2 separate regions of the Homo sapiens genome follow, and region 2 is linked to region 1. The links are contacts of gene promoters, found by promoter capture Hi-C in blood cells and fetal thymus (Javierre and others, 2016). All regions are on one chromosome and are shown on one strand. The core of a region is centred on a gene start or on the middle of the fragment in contact, and the rest is flanking DNA. Distances in the headings are between cores, read along the strand shown. Region 1 holds the start of MANSC1 (MANSC domain containing 1). Region 2 overlaps LOC107984486 (a long non-coding RNA gene).

Region 1 (2,700 bases), core at 55-2,554:
TGGGACATAATATGTGCTTCTTTATTAACCTATTAAGTAACAAGTGGTCATCTAATAACTGCCATAATTTTGACGTGGTATTGAGTATAGATAATATTTTGAAACGTGCAACAAGTCATGTGATATAAAGATATCGGCAATATTTACAGGGGGCAAATCATAGCTACTGCTAATACTACTGTGGCTTTTGCCTACATTCCATTTCAGAAGTCGGTGAAATAATAATTTTTTCCACTCAAGTTCACAGACATCCTGAATTCTATCCATGGATACCTTATCGTGGACTCCCCAGGTTAATAATTCTGGCCAAGGTACTTAATACGCTGCCATATTTTGCAAGCCTCTAGGGAATCAAGAGAAAACCAGGCCAATACTTTATTTTGAATGGATTCTAATGTAGCCTCTTTTCAAGCTTTTGCAAAGAAACCTGAACTATGTAAGGAGATGGGGCAGGAGTTGTTTTCAGTATGCAGCATTGAGAGAAGTGTTTAAGAGTTTTATATCATTAAAGAGGCTCAGCAATATTAGGTTAGCGACGTTTTCTAATCCATTATTATTTAGGCTTTAAGGGCCTGAAGTCGAGTTGAATCTTGTTGAAAGACGGGGTAAAAGGATACAGGCGGGTGAGAGAGGATGCCCCTGAGTTTTAACGTCTGCATACAAGAGTCGCTAAAACTTACTCGCACGTAATTAGTTCAAATATTGGAAATCGTCTTACAGCACACTATAATTTACCAAGATGCTTATAACTGTATACACACACACACTCTACAGAGAATTAGACAATTAGCAGTTTCAATAATGAATACAGAGTCAACGACAAGAAAACAGGGAACATTTTCTCTTCCTTTGAGGAAATGCATGTTGCCTACTGAGCTATTCTTCTGCCTCTCCTTCTGATGTCAACGCAGAGCCAGAGCCATTTATGGCAGGTGCCTTGAGCCCGCCTAGAGGTCCCCTTTGGAATACTGCAGCGACTCAAGGATCCTGGTCAGCCCTTATTGGCCCCAGCTGGTCCTTTGGATGCTCGGGTGTGGGTGAAGGAGCCTCGGCCCCTGGAAAGGAGGGGACCGACTCTCTCCGCAGGTAGCGACGTCGCCTGCGGCCGGTCGGGGGTGGGTATTGGGGAGACCCCTTTACCTGGCGTCGAGAGGACCCCGGCGCCCCTGCTGCCATCCAGGTGCGAGGACAGCTCTGTCGCGCCCGCGGGAAGGACCGGCGAATCCGCGCGGGGGTCTCGGCGAGGACCGCAGCGGATGCTCCGCAGCTCCCGCACCGGCCTGGCGGGTTTTGTGGTTAGCAAGTTCCTGCTTCCGTCGCAGCGACGGCAAGTTTGCCGCGGGGGAAGGGCACGTTCCTGCCCTGCAACCCGGAGCTGCTTCCCGGCAACATTAGCGCGTCCCTCCCCGCGGAGGCTCCGGGCTCCCGGCCCCAGCGCTGAGCCCCGCAGGGAGGTGGCTCCCCCCACCGCCCCGCGCTCCCCCCCAGCTCAGCCACACCGCTGACCCCGGGCTGGGCGCGCTGCGAGGGGGAGTGCGTGCCTCCCTGCTGGTGGCCCGAGGGTCTGCAGGTGAGCCTTGCCTCGCGGCCCGCGCAAGTTAAAATAAATGCACATGGGGAAAATGTCAAACAGTACAAAAATAGACACAGAGACAAGTCTACCCCTCACCCCCGTGCCCCAGTCTCCTAGTCTCCCTCCTCAGAGGCAACCACTGAGAGCAGTTTTTTGATGTTCAAGGGCTTATAGTGCATCCTATTGGGGGCATAGTTCTGAGAATCCTCTTTCCATAATTGGAGGATGGAGTCCTCAATTAAAGATGGCAATTCTTGAGTTAAATATTATCTGCAAGACAAACTTCAGGGAAGGTATTTGGCTTTCTGCGGGATTTATTGTTTGTAGATAGGATAATAATGGTGAAAATGCTGGTGTCTGTAACATATATTAAAACTGTATCCCTAACACTTAGCATAGTGCCTGGTACACAATAGGTGCTCAGTAAATATTTAACTAAAATATTTTTGTTGACTGAATGAATGGAAAAGAACTGCATAGGGCATAGGTTGTGGAAGTTTCTAAATTACTGCTGGCCCCATCCCCACCTCCATAAACACACACACAAATGCAACGTTACTAAACCATTGACACTTAGTTTGCCATATGGTCTAACCTTTGACAGTATCTTCACCTCTGTTTTGAAAGAGCTTGCAGACCTGAAGCGCTATGCAATTGCAAGTTAAGTCTAGGCCTGTACGGCCAACAGCTACACACCCTAGTCTTAACCAATAACTACAGGAGGATTAGGTTGACTGAGAATGCTTGTGAACAAAGGTCCATTGTGTGAAACTAACTCTACTTGTAACCAAAGGATGACTCTTGAATTACAATGTTGCTAAAGCTAGGTTTGAAAGAGTTACCAAAGAAAAGTAAACACCAGAGTAATTTCCCATTGCAGTGATTTTCCTGATGCAACAAGGGACTGATCTGCAAGTGTGTTTTATCTTTTATCATCTGATACACTTCAGGGTTCAGGGTGTAGAGCTATCACAGTTTTTGAATCTCTCTACATGGGGTAATCCATGCTAGTTACAAAGTAGACCTTTCCATTATTAGAAACTTCGTATTCGGTGCTTTAATACAATGAACCTGTTTCTTTTTTTGTTTTGTTTTGTGTTTTGTTTGTTTTTAGAGACGGAGTCTCG
Region 2 (2,700 bases), core at 96-2,595, 240 kb after region 1:
TGAGGTGGAAGGACAGCTTGATCCTGGGAGGTCGAGGCTGCAAGTGAGCTATGATCACTGCACACCAGTGTCGGTGACAGAGTGAGACACTGTCTCACACAAACAAACTTACCAAACATATATCAAGTGCTGATTACACTAGGTCTCTTGCTGCATAATTATAATAGTTTACACCTATTAAAGCTTACAATGTGCCTTGCACTGTGTTAAAGTGCTTTACATATATTATCTCATTTAATTGTCACGACAGACCTATGAGGTATATGTTACCTCATAGGTAATGTATCCATTTTACAGATGAAACTGATGAAACCCAGAGAGGCTAAGGAACTTGCTTCAGGTCACATAGTTACTGAGTGGGAAAGCCTAGTATTGAACCAAGTAAGTCAGCCCAAACACGGGTTCCGAGCACAATGCTAAACTGTCTCCACAGATATTACTACAATCTCATAAACTTCCCTATGACATAGGTATTATCACCCCAGTTTTGCAAATGGGGATTCAAGGTTTCGAGAGTCAGTGAATTGCCCAAGGTCATTCTGCTGAGTACGGGGCTAGGATTTGAAAGCAGATCCACTAACTCCAAGTCCATTAAACTTCCCATTACAATATAGCCACCTGGCAGAAATATTGTCTAGTATGAGATCAGATTAGAGGAAATTTTGACAGCAAAGAAGAGCAAGAAGTCTATATGAATAGGGAAGAACTTCAGGGTTTTGAATAGACATGATTTGATTAATGAAGGTAGTCTAGGTCTGGCCTCAGTCTTTCACAGGTAATTGAATCAGGGAAAGGGTAGACATGAACAGTAGATGATATTAGAGGAAGTAAGGACCTAGAAATGGGCATAGGAGAGAGGGAATGACAGAAACAAGATCAATATTTGAAGGAAAACCTGATTGTTCTAGGGGCTGAACAGCTGAGAGTGATGAAAGAGGAGATCAAATCAAAGAGGAATTTGCTTCTCTATATCTAAATAACTTCATGGACTATTGACAGGGACTGACAGTTTATATGAGCAGCTGATTTGTGGCAAAAAAAAAAAAAAAAAAAGAAGAAGGTTGTTTTTGGACATGTTGCAATCTGCTTGGCAGAACAATGACCTGCACATTCCAGAGGAAATGGCCAGTAGGCAGTCAGGGAAATGGGATTGGAGCTCAGGTAGAGAGCAGAAGCTGTCAATAGTATCTGACAAATAAGCTCTGCAAGGACCACTGAAGGGGCAGACAAGTCACATCCCAAGAAAAATAGGGTTTTTTTTTAATAATCAGAATGCGCCAGGAGTCAGCAGAGAACCAAAATGCACTATAATGAAAGAGATCAGGCCCAAGGGCAAGCCACAGGTCAAGATAAGTGGTTAGGGACAATGCAGAGATAAAAATTAAAGGGATGCAGCAGCAAATCTGATCTCATCAGTATCAAGGATAAATGACCACAGAATAATTTCCTGTCCTGTTTCTGGTATTTTGGGGTATTCCCCTATTGCAGGAGCCAAATCCACTTAACTGGATGACGCCCTCAGAATGACCCTGCAGAACAACCAGGAATCTTCCTAGCAGGGAGTACACAGTCTACATCAGCACAGGGAGAGAATGAAAGTTATCAAAAAGGGCCTCTCCACTGAATTGTACATGTAAAAATGGCTAAAATGGTAAATGACATTTATGTAGATTTTACCAAAATTTAAAAGGGAGTCTATCTCTTGAAAAGATAAACATCTACGGATTCCCCCAAAATCTCCAAAAGTTCACCTAATTACCATCTCCTGGACTTCCCCTGTTTGTTAAAGATCTTGATTTCCTTGCTTAAGTTGGTGGCTATGGTGCTAAAGGGATGAAGATACTTAAGAAACCATGGAGGCTGCAGCTACCTGGTGCCCTTGTCCCTTCCAGTCTGGGAAGGGAATGGGATAGTTGGTTGTGGTCAGTTTGCTGTGGAAACTCCTCTTCTGGCCTTTCTGCTCCCTCTGTCCTTTTTTCAGAACTTTGAGAACATGACACATTGGCCAATGCTCCACCCTCTGTGACCTCTTCTGCTTGACACAATTAAGAAAATGAGCCATAGAGCAACTCAGCCAACACCTGGAAGGGACTTACCTGAGACAGGAACCTGAGAGTCCTGTAACTTCAGTTCTTGCTCACTGCCCTGTGCATATGGCCTTAGAATCCTAGGATCCTCTTTCTGACTTTACAGAGATCACCTCCAAGCCTATATCGAATTCCTTTCCTGATCAATATATAATGTGTTCTTAGTTCAGGGGGCCTTCACAAACCAGGGCAACCCAAAGGTGCTCAGCTCCTACGCTCTTGGAAGTAGCAAGGTGGGGCTCCTCTTCATCTTGTAAGTAAGGAAACAGTGGCCCAGGATCAGTTCAATGGCTTGCCCACGGGCATATACCTGGCTAATTGCAGAAGGGGAAGGAGATGCAGGCCTTCTGATCCACTCTCCAAATCTCTGTTAGTTAGACAAAGAGATCCCAGCTGAAATATTTGGAATGCTATTTTTACTGAAGCTTTGCTTTCCCCCAGATTTAGTCTCTTTTACTGCCTTTTTCTCAAAACATATTTAAACTGCTTGGAAATGCCAATTAGGGGTCTAAAATAGAATGATAACTGCACCGATCAATTGGGGAAGCTCACTGGTTACCCACAAAACCATCACAGACCGCCTATTATGCTGTGGCTAAAACTCGGATCCATG

The links. Contacts are between HindIII fragments. The CHiCAGO score rates a contact against its expected background, and 5 or more counts as called.
Region 2: a fragment that was not itself captured here is called in contact with the fragment with the promoter of MANSC1 in region 1 in 1 of 17 cell types (neutrophils); the score reaches 5.9 in neutrophils.

The regions. Positions count from the first base shown.
Region 1 is chr12:12,348,938-12,351,637 of GRCh38, forward strand. MANSC1 (MANSC domain containing 1) reads right to left here and starts at 1,305. Exons shown (of 4, transcript NM_018050.4): 1 at 1,141-1,305. RefSeq lists a silencer at 1,306-1,615. The HindIII fragment of the contact is 5,175 bases long and covers 411-2,700 here.
Region 2 is chr12:12,584,205-12,586,904 of GRCh38, forward strand. LOC107984486 (a long non-coding RNA gene) reads right to left here. Exons shown (of 3, transcript XR_001749010.1): 1 at 2,097-2,700. Among named protein-coding and RNA genes, the nearest start is that of DUSP16, 23 kb to the left of the region's middle. RefSeq lists an enhancer at 853-1,354. The HindIII fragment of the contact is 2,329 bases long and covers 182-2,510 here.